2 separate regions of the Homo sapiens genome follow, and region 2 is linked to region 1. The links are contacts of gene promoters, found by promoter capture Hi-C in human tissues and cell types (Jung and others, 2019). All regions are on one chromosome and are shown on one strand. Each heading gives the region's core, a stretch centred on a gene start or on the middle of the fragment in contact. The rest is flanking DNA. Distances are from core to core; before and after follow the strand shown. Region 1 holds the start of ADIRF (adipogenesis regulatory factor). Region 2 overlaps BMPR1A (bone morphogenetic protein receptor type 1A).

Region 1 (7,483 bases), core at 1,840-4,339:
TCACTGCAACCTCTGCCTCCCAGGTTCAAGTGATTCTCCTGCCTCAGCCTCCCAAGTAGCAGGGACTACAGGCGTGCGCCACCACGCCCAGCTAATTTTGGTACTTTTAGTACAGACAGGGTTTCACCATGTTGGCCAGGCTGGTCTCGAACTCCTGACTTCAAGCTATCCACCTACCTCGGCCTCCCAAAGTGCTGGGATTACAGGCAGGAGCCATCACGACCAGCTATTTCTGGAATTTTCCATTTAACATTTTGGACCTTACCAATTGCGGTGCAGGGGCCAAGGGAAAACTTCCCCTTTACCCTCTGAAGGTTCACTGAAAAGTCAGCTCATGAAAGCAGAATAGAAATGGAATACACATTCATTAGCATGCAAGGGGAAATCAGAGTGACTGCCCCACCACGAAATGGGGTACAGATGAGCAATGGGGAAGTGTGGGTAATTTCAGGGGGCTAGTAAATGATTTTCAGGGGAATTCAGTGGGCTTGAAGAACATACAGTGGCCTGGGACAAAGTCTGTTGGGCTCACAGAGCAGACAACGGTTTGCAAAATCTGTCCAGGTATGTGAGCAGGCTTCAGTCTTTCTTCCTGTGACAGCAGTTCAGTCAGAGAAAACTCCGGGAAGGGACCAGTGGTCATTGTTTTCTTCTTTGGTGGGTCCAGACTTAAGGCAGATGAGGAACTTCAGAGAACAACTTCACTGTATGCTTTGGAAGAGACAAAGGGTTGGGGGGCCTGTGGGAGTCTGGTCGGAGAGACCTTAAGGCTTCTTCAGTTCAGAATGTCACACCACTATATTTCGGGGTATTGGTTTCTGAGCCCCAACAATGAGTAACTGAAACTGCAGAAAGCGAAATCACAAATTAGCTGGGGGTGGTGGCTCATGCCTGTAATCTCAGCTACTCAGGAAGCTGAGGCAGAACTGCTTGAACCTGGAAGGCAGAGGTTGCAGTGAGCCAAGATCCCGCCATTGCACTCCAGCCTGGGCAACAAGAGCAAAACTCTGTCTCCAAAAACAAAAAAAGGGAAAAAAAAAAGTGACACCACAGCAAACTGGGGCGGGGGTGGGGGAAACGGTAATGCGGTAATGCGCTCCCTCCTTCTGCCTCTCCTTGTCTGAGAAGCCCTGGTGCCCTGCACGCTCTCACAAGGTCCACTGCTGAGTCCTGGGCACCCTTCAGCCAATTTAATCTTCACACACACACTTTGGGGAGACGCTGTGATGTGATGGGGATGTTGAGGCTCAGAGAAGTGAGGGGCTTGCTCTAAGAATATCTGAACCCAAGAGGTTTGACTGTAGTGCCTGCCGCTAGGGCCACGTGGAGCTCTCTCTACCACCATCTGCTGGGGGCTGGCTGTCTCTTCCCACAGAGGCTGCTCCCTTCCTGTCCAGCTCACAGCTCATTGCCCATGGGGCCTGGAGCCCAGTGGCACCACCAGCCTGTGATAAACTGGAACACTCGAAGGCCTGCCTGGCTATTGGGCACTACCGGTGGGATTTCAGGAGGGCTGGCAGGGCTGTGGCCAGCCAGGCAGGGCATGGCTGAGATGGGCTCCCCAGAGTCCCCAAGGCATCCATATGGCCGCTCCCAGGGCAAGGCCTCGCTCTGGGAGAGGAGGGGCGGGGGGCTGGGAGGACTGTTGCTGCCGCTTTGTTTTGCCTGAGACCTGCTCCCTCCCCCTTCCTCCACCTAATCTCATCACCTGCCTCTTCCCTTTGCCCAGGGTTGACCTCATCTCCATTAATCCATACCGTGTGTGTGTGTGTGTGTGTGTGTGTGTGTGTGTGTGTGTGTGTGTGTGTACAGGTGCACTTCCAAACAACTCCCTCTAGGGGCTGACCCCGCAGCACTAGAAGCAGGGTATGTGCCAGCAGACCAAGCCTGTGTGGCAGGGGCTTCCCAGCGCTCCAGAATAGGGGAGACACCAGCAGAGGTGCAAGAAACAGCCCCGGACAGGAAGCGGTAGAGAGACCCAGAAAGGCAGGGTGGGTGTGCACTGGCCTCCAGGTCCTGAAGGCCTACTCTGGAGTGGGAGTATACCCAGCTGGGTGGGGCCTGACCTACACCCCTTGTGTGCCAGGGGAATGTATCTTGCAAGCTGTTTTGCTGCACCCAAGGATGATCTTCTCCACTCAGGCCCAGGTCCCTAAGTCCCCTCCTAACAGCCACAAGTCATACTCTCTAGCGCCTTGCCTGCCCCATCTCAGGAAAGGTGACCTGAGAGGCCCAAGCTTATTCCTGCCCTCCCTGAGCCATGCTTCCTGCCCAACTTCCTAAGGCTTCGGTGACAGACGGCAATCTCCTTGCCTGGGCTGCACAGGCACACTGCCCTCTCCCCCTTGGGGTTGCATGGTCTGCAAGTGCACACACCTGTATCTCGCCCTCTCAGGGGAAAGATTTACCAGGCCCTCTCCGGCTGCATCCACTGGGTCTCTGGCTACAGGCAGAGAGCCAGTCAGCAGTGCCCCTGCAGCTGTTTGGGGCTGGGGGCTCCGATGATGCCAGAGCCCTAGGGTTTACAGGCACCTAGGCAGATTCGAGGATCCAAGTCCCTGCCACATGCGTTTGGGTGAGACCGACCTCACTGCCTCAGTTTCCTCCTATACACTGATGCTATCAACAAAAATACCCACTTCAGGAGGTGGTTGTAAAGATTATACAAGAGACTGCAGAGCGTTAGGCAGCACCTGGCACAAGACAAATGCTCAGTAAAAGACCACTGCTGTCATTAAGGTCAACACCAGCCCTGAGCTCCTGCCCTGGAGCTGACCCAGCGCTCACGCCCAGGATCAGAAAGGGAGGGCTGGGGCTGATGAGCTGGGAGGTGGTGTGCGCCCTTCTCCTGCCTCCAGCTCCTCTCTGGACCCCTGTCCTGGCACCTCTTCGGTCCCTGGTTCGGTCTGCCCCTTTCCCACCGCGGCCCGTCTTAGGCCAGGATGTGCTCCCTGCCCTGCGGACTCTGGAGCAGGGCCCGGCCACTCCCCGGAGCCTGTATGACGGGAACCGCCCCGCGCCCTCTCCCCTACGCGGGGCAGGCCAGCCCTGGGGCGCCTTAAAAACCGGAGCTGGCGCTTGGCATCGCCACTCTGGGCAGGATCCAACGTCGCTCCAGCTGCTCTTGACGACTCCACAGATACCCCGAAGCCATGGCAAGCAAGGGCTTGCAGGACCTGAAGCAACAGGTGGAGGGGACCGCCCAGGAAGCCGGTGAGGATAGCGCGCGACCTAGGGCTCAGGCAGGGGCACCTGCGTGGATGCGCAGGCAGAAGCAGCGGGTCGGCGCGGTCCGCAAGTTCCTGGACCGGCAGCTTGGCTCGGAAGGCTCGGTCCTCCACTGAGACGCAGGGGGCAGGCAGAACGCCCACCCCGGCGAGCAGACAGATGGTGCCCGCAGGGAGGCAGCGGAACAGAGGCTCCGGAGGAGCCGGAGCTGCGCTGCGGGCACTGCGGGAGCCCCTCCAAGGAGGCCATGCTGGCGCTGGGCGGCCCGCCCAGGCCCTCAGGAGAGGGTGAAGGTCCAGGACAGGGATCGGGCGCGGCCCGCCACCACTTAAACCCGCGCGCGCCACCAGAGGCTGCCCCAGACCTCAAAGGGCTTTGTTTCCATCCCACCCCCATCGCCGAAAAGTAATCGTCGCCTTACCTTTAAGTCCCCACCTGGCAAAGAAGGTCCTTAGTTCCTCCACCTCCAGCTCTCTCCTCCGTATTCTGGAGGTGACCCAGCTGCGGTGGGGGCGTGGGAGATGTCAGGAGACCACTGGGTTGGTTCTTCCTGCACCTAGCCCAGGCTTCGTTAGGACTCCAGCTCCCTGTCAGTCCTGCCCATATCCCAGTCAGGAGACAATATCCAAACCAACCCCTTACTTCACCAGTGCTCCAGGGGAGGCCCACAGTTCTTCCCTTGAGACTGAAATGCTACCAAGGAAGCCTCCGTGTCAGGTCCCTTCCTTCTGGGCTTCACTTTTCCATCTGAGAGCTGGGTGCAAAGGATGGGCTGCTTTCTGATGGGTTAATCGAGACGAGGTTCCCAGGGGCCTCTCAGCACACTTGCCTGACTAACCCTTTCCGGAGGATGGGATCTGGGTAAGGCAGGCCCTTTCCTGTTCAGCAGCAGGGATGAGTTACAGCTCTGTAGGCGGGAGCCACCTGTCAGCCCCCCCGGGGCTGGTGACTCCATTCCCAGCAGGCCGAAACTCTGGTCCAGAGGAGATAGTCCGGCCTTGGAAGTTTTGCCTCCTTCCTTCATTTGTCTCCTAATGTCTTAAGCTGCCTGTCCACAGAGGCACTGGCTTTGCTTGTGTGCCCCTCCGGGCAGGCCACAGGAGGGAGGAGGCAGTAAGGACCTGGCAAAACTGCAAGCCCCAGGGCTAAGTGCATGAAAGGTGGGAATTCAGGCATCTGGGCCAGGCTTCTAGGGGAGAAGCTGTAAAAGGGGGCAAGGGTCTTCTGCGCCATCACCAGCATTAGCCAACAGTCCAGATGCTAGCTGCAGCCTGGCCCTGCCCTGCCTTCCTTCCTCTGTCCAACATTTTCTCAGTAGCCCTGGAGATGGAAAGGGAAGCTCCTCCCCCACAGAGAAGGAGCTCAGAGTTAGAAATAAACAAAAACATCCCAGAGGCATGGAAAGGTCTCCTGCCCCTCGGGCTGGGGGGCCCTGGGCCAGGGACTTTATCTCCATGGCATCCATCCCTTGGACCTGTACCACCGAATACTCTGGAGGACACAGAGGCATGGCAATGGTGGGGCACCTGTAGTCGGTGGTGCCTCAACAGGGGCTAAAAGCCACATCTCTCTGTTCCAGTGTCAGCGGCCGGAGCGGCAGCTCAGCAAGTGGTGGACCAGGCCACAGAGGCGGGGCAGAAAGGTCTGGTGGGGCTGGAGGGAGGCGGGCAACCCCAGCACACCTCCCACTCCCCGCCCCATCCCGGCTGGGGCCCAGGCACATCCTCTCCTCTGCAGAGCCCTCTGTCCACAATGCCCCAAGCAGGTCCCCCGGGAGACCCAGGCCAGGCTAAGCCTACAGGCACTGTGGTTCCCGGGCCCTGCCTGACCTGCCCTCTCTCCCGCCCTTCCCCAGCCATGGACCAGCTGGCCAAGACCACCCAGGAAACCATCGACAAGACTGCTAACCAGGCCTCTGACACCTTCTCTGGGATTGGGAAAAAATTCGGCCTCCTGAAATGACAGCAGGGAGACTTGGGTCGGCCTCCTGAAATGACAGCAGGGAGACTTGGGTGACCCCCCTTCCAGGCGCCATCTAGCACAGCCTGGCCCTGATCTCCGGGCAGCCACCACCTCCTCGGTCTGCCCCCTCATTAAAATTCACGTTCCCACCCTGTGTCCACTTCATGATTCCTCGCAAGCTGGGCCCAGTCCTCTCATCCCAAGAGCAGAGCCACCGTAGCCGGAGTCCTAGCCTCCCAAATTCGGAAATCCAATCCAACGGTCTCAGGAATGTTTTCCATCCCGCCACGCGCCTCCCGAAGCTCCCAGACCGGAGGCTCAGCCCCCATCTCGGTTAGTGCCCCTCTCCCGCCCGACTTTAGAGCCAGCCCCTGCCCCTTATTCCCTGCCCCAGGATCCCGGCCCCTCCTGGGAGCTGGGCTGGACTCGGTCCTCAGATCCTCGGAAGGCTCAGCTCTGGGCGGGGCAAGGGACCTTGCAAGTCGGGGGGGCCTCGGGAACTTCTCTCCGCCAGCTGCGACTGGAGGCTGGGAACAGGGGAGACGACCCAGGGCCACGGCCCCTCAGGACTTCAGGCGGCCGGAGGTTGTGGGGACGAAGCGGAGTCGGGAGCCGGGCTTCCGGCCCTCACTACCCCGTCTCGGCCCGCGGGTTGCCTGCGTGCCCGCCCCACCCAGCGGTGAGTCATGGGGCAGGGCCCGCGGGAAGCTTTGTTGAGTGGGGCGCTGCCGCCCGGCGGGGTCCCGCCCCGCCACTCCCCGGGGAGGGGCTTCGGGGCACGGGGCCGTGCACGTGAGAACGAAGCACGGTTGTGGGGGGGGCATGCACGTGCGCGCTCGCGTGCGGGAGACCCCTCCCTTCCACACCACTTCCTTTCGGGACAAACCGGTAACCTCCGGCCCTGGAAGGTTTTGTCTAGTGGGTTCCGGATGGACTGGTGTTCCCAGCACCCCCCCGGCACGTGTCCACGCGTGTGGCCCCGGTACGGTGTATGCCTTGCCAGTAGGTGACTCAACGTGGCACTGGTTGAGCGCCGGATGAGGCCTGGCCCTGGCGCGGGGCGTGGGCTGCTGCGGCCCTTTCCTCCCCGCGCCCCTCACGCCCCAGCGGGCCCCTAGCGGTTCCCGTCCACCCGCTCCATGTCTTTACCCCGGTACTACCTCCACCTGCAGTCGCCTCCTCCTGCGCGCCAGTGGCCTCTGCGTTTCTGTTGAAAGGTACCGACTACGCGGTGCTTCCCAGTTCTGAGGCGATTTAGTCAGCGGACTCAAGGCGCGCTCCCTGCCTTCCCCGGCCTCCCAGCAGGGGACGAAGTCCCCAACCTGGCTGCCAGTCCAGATGCTGCAGTACAGGTCTGCCTAGGAGGCCGTTCCCTTCTCCAGTCTGAGATCTCCCTCGCGGGGCACGTGTCTACCACCCTTAACCCAGGGCTGCCCTGGTTCCACTATCGGTTACATGTTGCTGACTGTCCCCAAAAGGTTTCTTTGTAGAATGTGGGAAAGTCCTTGAAGAGACACCCGGAGCAGTGTCAGGGGCGCTTCCAGGAGCCCCTGCCTCCAGGAGCAGGTCCTAGGGTCTGGAGAGCCGGCCTCAGGGCCACTCCAGGAGGCTGGTGGGGCTGGACTGGCAGAGCCCAGCATCCTTCTGGTGTGCATCATTCCCCTATGACTCAGGGATGAATCCCAAGGGACTTTTCACTTGTTCTCCTTGTGAGTGATCGCCTTAAGTGCGACCCAGGTGCGGCCAAGGAGAGAGATCAGGCCTGAGGCCAGGAGTCTTCTAGAAAAGGCTTTTCTTGTCTTGAAGGCGGGGCATGGTGGCTCAGCCTGTAATCCCAGCACTTTGGGAGGCTGAGGCGGGAGAATGACTTGAGACCGGGAGGTCGAGGACCGCTGCACTCAGTCTGGGCAACAGAGTGAGACCCTGTCTCAGAAAAAAAAAAAAAAGCCGCCCTTCATCTTCCTCTGGACACCTTGTGGCTGGAAAGGAACCCTAGAACCAGCCACTTGGAACCACAGGAGGAACAAGTCTGAGGAACAAGTCTAAGGAAAAGCCCACCTGCTGATGAGGGCAGAGCCTCCCAGACCTCCAGCCTGTTCCCACAACACCCCCTCCCTTCCATCTCAGCCACCTTGACCTTCCCATCATGCTCCTGCTGCCTCGGTATCTTCACACCTGCGGCATTTTCTGCCTGGCATACTCTCCATAAATCACCCTTGCCTATTGCTCTTCCAAACGTCAGGTCTCAGCGGCCTTGGGTGTGCCGACACACACACACACACACACACACACA
Region 2 (5,719 bases), core at 1,904-4,403, 52 kb before region 1:
GATATCCAGATAGGTTTAAGTTTTTAATTGTATTAGTTGAAAGAAACTGATCTCTTCTTATTTTATTTTATTTTACTTTATTTTATTTTAATCGTATCGAGATAGTCTTGCTCTGTCACCCAGGCTGGAGTGCAGTGGCCCAGTCTTCGGCTCACTGCAACCCCTGCTTCCCAAGTTCAAGCAATTCCCGTCTCAGCCTCCGAAGTAGCTGGAATTACCAGATGCACCACCACACCAGGCTAATTTTTTTTTTTTTTTTTTTTTGAGGGATGAGGTTTCTCCATGTTGGCCAGGCTGGTCTCAAACTCCTGGCCTCAACTGATCCTTCCACCTTGGCTCCTAAAGTGCTGGGATTACAGGTGTGAACCACCGCACCCACCCTGATCTCTAATTTTGAAATTCATCTTATTAAATAACTCTAATTGAATTGGAAAGGTAAAAGTAAAACTGCCTTCATAGGCAGACAACATGATTGTTTACGTAGAAAATCCCAAGAATGGTACAATAAAACTACTGCAGCCAGTAAATGACTTTATCAGGTTGCAGAATACAGAGTCATTGTACAAATACCATTGAATTTATAGGCTCTAGCAACAAACAATTAGGTAATTATAAAAACAGTATTTAAAATAGCATCAAAAACCATGAAATATTTAGAATAAGCCTAACAATTTATGCAAGACCTGCACACTGAAAATTATAAAACATTGCTGAAAGAAATTAATAAAGCCCTAAATAAGTGGAGATGTTTATAAATCTGAGGACTCAGTATTAAGATTTCAGTTTTCCTCAAATTGGTGTGTAATTTCATTCGAATCCAAATGAAAATCAGAGCAAACTTTTATAGCAATTGATGTATATTCTAACATTTATATGGAAATGCAAAGGACTAGAAGAGCCAAAACAATTTTGAAGTAGAAGAACAAAGAGGAATCACTACCTGATTTCTGGACTTACCGTAAAACTCAATAATGATCTCAATTTGGTACTGGCATAAGGATAGATGTATTGATGAATGGAACAGATTATGGAGTTTAGAAAGGAACATGCACTTAATATGGTTAATTGATTAAAAAAAAAAAAACAAAAAGATGCCCAAGTAATTCAATTGGAAAAAGGCAGTCCATTTAACAGATGGTGCAGGAAATATCAGGAATCCATTTACCAAGAAGTTAATCTCAGTCCTTACCTCCTCACTCTATACCAAATTAACTTGAAATGTAGCATAGACCTAAATGTAAAAGTTGAAGTATAAAACCTCTAAAAGAAAATGTCTGAAAAAATTATTCTGACCTTGGGCAGACTTCTTCAGTACATAAAAAACACAAATCATTTTTTTAATGATAAATCAGGCTTTATCAAAATTTAAAACTTCTGCTATTTAGAAGACAAGAAAATGAGAAGACAAGTCACAGATTGGCAAAACAGATCTGATACAGGGTTTTTGTGCAAAATATATAAAGACCTTTTGCAACTCAATAATAAGATAACCCAATTTTTTTAAAAAATGGACAAAAGATTTGAACAGACACTTCCCCAAAGAAGATATAAGAATGGCAAACAAGCACATGAAAAGATGCTCAGCATCAGCAGGGATATACAAATTAAACACAGTAAGATACTACTGCACATCCACTAGTATAGCTAAGACTGATAATATTAAGTGGTGCCAAAGATGTAGATCAACTAGAAATCTCATACATTGCTGGTTGGAATGCAAAATGGTATGGCTATTTTGAAAAATAGTTTGACAATTGCCTGGAAAGTTAAGGGCATACTTTCCGTACAATGAAGCAATCCTTCTGCTAATTATTTACCCAAGAGATATGAAAACTTGTCCACACCAGAGGCCTGAATGTGAATGTTTATAGCAGTTTTATTTATAATAGACATAAACTGGAAACAACCCCAAAGCTCATGAATTGCTAAATGAATAAACAAATGCTGGTACATTCATACAGTGGAATATTACTCATCAGTAAAAAGGAACAACTTCTAACACATGTAGCAGCAACAGTGGGTGAATTTCAAAAGTACTTTATGCTACATGAAAGAAGCCAGACACAAAAGGCTACACAAAAGTGATTCTCCTGCCTCAGCCTCCCAAGTAGCTGGGATTAAGGCATGCACCACCATGCCCAGCTAATTTTTGTATTTTTTTTTAAGTAGAGACAGGGTTTCACCATGTTGGCCAGGCTGGTCTTGAACTCCTGACCTCAGGTGATCCACCCGCCTCGGCCTCCCAAAGTGTTGGGATTACAGGCGTGAGCCACCACGCCTGGCCAAAAAGTGAGAATTTTTTTACGTTATTAAAATATTCTGTATCTTAATTGTGGTATTGGTGATTACATGATATAGATTTGTCCAAGGCTTGTTGAACTTTTCTCAAAAAGGGTACATTTTATATAAATTATACCTCAATAATCTTGACTTAAAAACTTACAGGCTGAGGCAGGCAGATCACTTGAGGTCAGGTGTTCGAGACCAGTCTGGCCAACATGGTGAAACCCTGTCTCTACTAAAAATACAAAAATTAGCTGGACGTGGTGGCAGATGCCTGTAATCCCAGCTGCTCGGGAGGCTGAGGCAGGAAATTGTTTTAACTGGGGAGGCAGAAGTTGCAGTGAGCTGAGATTGGCCGCCGCACTCCAGCCTGAGCAACGGAGCGAGACTCTGTCTCAAAAAAACAGAACAAAATTTACAAAAGGATTCTATAATAAATGATACATAAAGTCACTTTAGCTTTGCACTAAATCTAGTCCATTTTAGAAGCATTTCCAACTTGGAGCATAATGTTCTTTTTAATTTAGAATGATCACTAATGCTTCTGAAAATGAAAGATAACAATCCATGTACATCTTTTATTTAACAAATATTAAAGTACTTCTGATATTGTCCCAAATAAATACTTATATTCTGTGAGCAGGGGATGGAATTCAAGCAAATATATATGTAAATAAGAATAAAGTTATGATTGTGTTAAGCGCAGCAACTGAGAGGTTTTGTGTGCTATGAAGGTGTTTAAGTGAGAAAATAGCACTCTAAGTAAAGGGAACTGGATATTCAAAAAAACCCAGCGACAGGAATAAGCTTGAGTGAATTCTAAAAGTTGAGATAAGTCAAACGAGGTTTGTGGGTGGGTGGTCAAAGCAAATAATGGGACCAGGCCAGATCAGGCAGGGTCTTATAGATGGGATTTTTAAGATCTTTAACTGTTATTTGGACTTTGCTGCATAATAAACCACCCCAAAACTTAGTGATGTGAAGCAACAAACATTATTTCTCATTCTGTGAGTCTGTGGGGCAGTTCATTTGTTGGACTTGCTTAGCTAGAGCTAGGTGGTGTAGTTCACACCCTTGGCCGACAGTTCATGCTGCCATTATTTTTTGGTCACAGGGTTCCCAAAGCAGCAGGAAGGGGGCAAGCCCCAGTCCACAAACATTTGTCAGGTCTTTGCTTGCATCACGTTCGCTGTTGTTCTTTTATCCAAAGCAAGTCATGTGGCCTAAGCCCTGAGTCTGTGGACCAAGACTACCCACGACTGTGTGCACTGGGAGGGTAATTATTATGACCATTTTTGCAAACAGCCAGCCACTTGAATAACCTGTTTATGATTTCAGAATACATTGTACATTGTTTCATACTTTAAAGTACATTATGGCCGGGCATGGTGGCTCACGCCTGTAATCCCAGCATTATGGGAGGCCGGGGGTGGGGTGGATCACCTGAGGTCAGGAGTTCAAGACCAGCCTGGTCAACGTGGCTAAACCCCATCTCTACTAAAAATACAAAAAAATTAGCTGGGCATGGTGGCGGGTGTCTGTAATCCCAGCTACTTGGGAGGCTGAGGCAGGAGAATCACTTGAATCTAAAAGGTGAAGGTTGCAGTGAGCCGAGATCGCGCCACTGCACTCCATCCTGGGTGACAGAGCGAGACTCCATCTCAAAAAAAAAAAAGTACATTATAAGTTTTTAACTGGAGTTGGTTGGGTACACCATGCTTTTTGATGAGATGGACTACCCCTTTGCCAGTCTTAATGGGTTTCTTTCATCAAGAGCTCAAACCTTTTACTTTTTTCTATAAAGGTTCAGCGAACTATTGCCAAACAGATTCAGATGGTCCGGCAAGTTGGTAAAGGCCGATATGGAGAAGTATGGATGGGCAAATGGCGTGGCGAAAAAGTGGCGGTGAAAGTATTCTTTACCACTGAAGAAGCCAGCTGGTTTCGAGAAACAGAAATCTACCAAACTGTGCTAATGCGCCATGAAAACATACTTGGTGGGTACACACTGATTCAGTCAATTTCATTTTTGACAAGGCTAGTGAGGTACAGGTGGAAGCCTCCATATGTGCTTTGAAAATGTGTGAGTTCAACTATATACATTTGGCTAAAGGAAACCTAGTAGAATACACGGTTTGAATAAAACATAGTCCGGAATGCCAACCAAGATCTTTCTTTACTAACCAGCTGAAGAAACAGCAGTGAGTTTCAAATGGAAAATAATACTAGTTTATTGGACTTACTCCCATAGTAATGAAAACCCAGTCTTTTATAGATAACTTAAGCAGTGATTTAGGGTAACATTAACATATGTGCCTTTTCCCTTTCATAAGCTCAACAGCCCAACATGCAGTTTCATTGTACGTTCTGTGTTTAATGTGTGTTTCCCCCCATCTCCACATTTACACAATAGCAAAGTAATTTAGGTGTGAGCTGGTCAGTCAGGTACATAAGCCGATCTGGCTATCCTGAGTTTTCTTTTCCCTTCACCTCTTGTTTTCCTCCCTTTAATTTGGAGAGCCCATAGCATGTTGCCAAGCAGGCAATTGTATTAGTTTCCTAGGGCTGCTGTATCAATTACCACAAACTGGGTGGCTTCAACCTCCAAAACGTATTCACTCAGTTTTCGAGGCTAGAAGTTTAAAACCAAGGTGTTGGCAGAGCTGTTGTGTCTCTGAATACTCTAGAGGAGGAGCCTTCCTTGCCTCCTCTGGCTACTGGTTGGTGGCCAGGAATTTTTGGTGTTCCTTGGCTTAGTATAGACAACACTCTAGTCTCCATTTCTGTCATCAGGTGGCCTTCTCCCTGGGTGCCTGGGTCCACATTTCCACCTTACAACATCACCAGCCATTGAATTCGGGCCCACGCTAATCCTGTATGAGTCATCTTAACTTGATTACATCTGCAAAGACCCTCTTTCCAAATAAGGTCACGTTTATAGATGACATGGATTTTAGACATGAATTTTGTCGGGGAGCACTGTTCAGCTCAGTACATAGCACTCACTGACCTTTTTCTGGAGGGAAGAGGGTAGGAGAGAAAGGAAAAGAGCAGGACTGTGGGCCTGGCAGTCAACGAGCCAGACTGAAAAGGCAGCTGTGATGAGTCACTGATGGGCAAATGGGAGTTGGCTTAATTAGGAGCTAACTCTTAGTTGAACATTCTTAATTTTATAAAAGTGTCCACTTTTTGCTTTGAAATTGAGAGCCTTTTCTACTAGAGAATCATGTAGGTTGATAATATTCTCCAGGTTATTTGTATAATATGTCATCTTTTTCTTTTCTTTCCTTTTCTTTTCTTTTTTTTTTTTTTGAGACGGAGTCTCATTCTGTCGCTCAGGCTGGAGTGCAGTGGCGCCATCTTGGCTCACTGCAACCTCTGCCGCCAGGTTCAAGTGATTCTCTTGCCTCAGCCTCCAGAGTAGCCGGGACCACAG

Evidence for each region. The method cuts DNA at HindIII sites, captures the fragments that hold promoters and counts their contacts. A contact is called where the count stands out against the background at its distance.
Region 2: a contact is called between a fragment that was not itself captured here and the fragment with the promoter of ADIRF in region 1, in 1 of the 25 tissues and cell types used here (thymus).

The regions. Positions count from the first base shown.
Region 1 is chr10:86,965,393-86,972,875 of GRCh38, forward strand. It overlaps ADIRF (adipogenesis regulatory factor), which reads left to right and starts at 3,090. Exons shown (of 3, transcript NM_006829.3): 1 at 3,090-3,213; 2 at 4,808-4,870; 3 at 5,084-5,523. The coding sequence starts at 3,153. The coding sequence ends at 5,190. ADIRF-AS1 (ADIRF antisense RNA 1) reads right to left here and starts at 5,848. Exons shown (of 2, transcript NR_170185.1): 1 at 3,650-5,848; 2 at 1-936. It overlaps LOC124902474, which reads left to right and starts at 6,013. Exons shown (of 3, transcript XM_047426123.1): 1 at 6,013-6,172. The coding sequence starts at 6,013. It overlaps AGAP11 (ArfGAP with GTPase domain, ankyrin repeat and PH domain 11), which reads left to right and starts at 4,944. Exons shown (of 11, transcript NR_171046.1): 1 at 4,944-5,523. RefSeq lists enhancers at 317-376, 447-766, 1,023-1,776, 1,777-2,529, 4,036-4,789 and 3 more and silencers at 3,900-4,194, 5,776-6,325. The HindIII fragment of the contact is 7,922 bases long and covers 1-4,067 here.
Region 2 is chr10:86,913,047-86,918,765 of GRCh38, forward strand. It overlaps BMPR1A (bone morphogenetic protein receptor type 1A), which reads left to right. Exons shown (of 13, transcript NM_004329.3): 9 at 4,088-4,280. Among named protein-coding and RNA genes, the nearest start is that of MMRN2, 42 kb to the right of the region's middle. The HindIII fragment of the contact is 5,173 bases long and covers 568-5,719 here.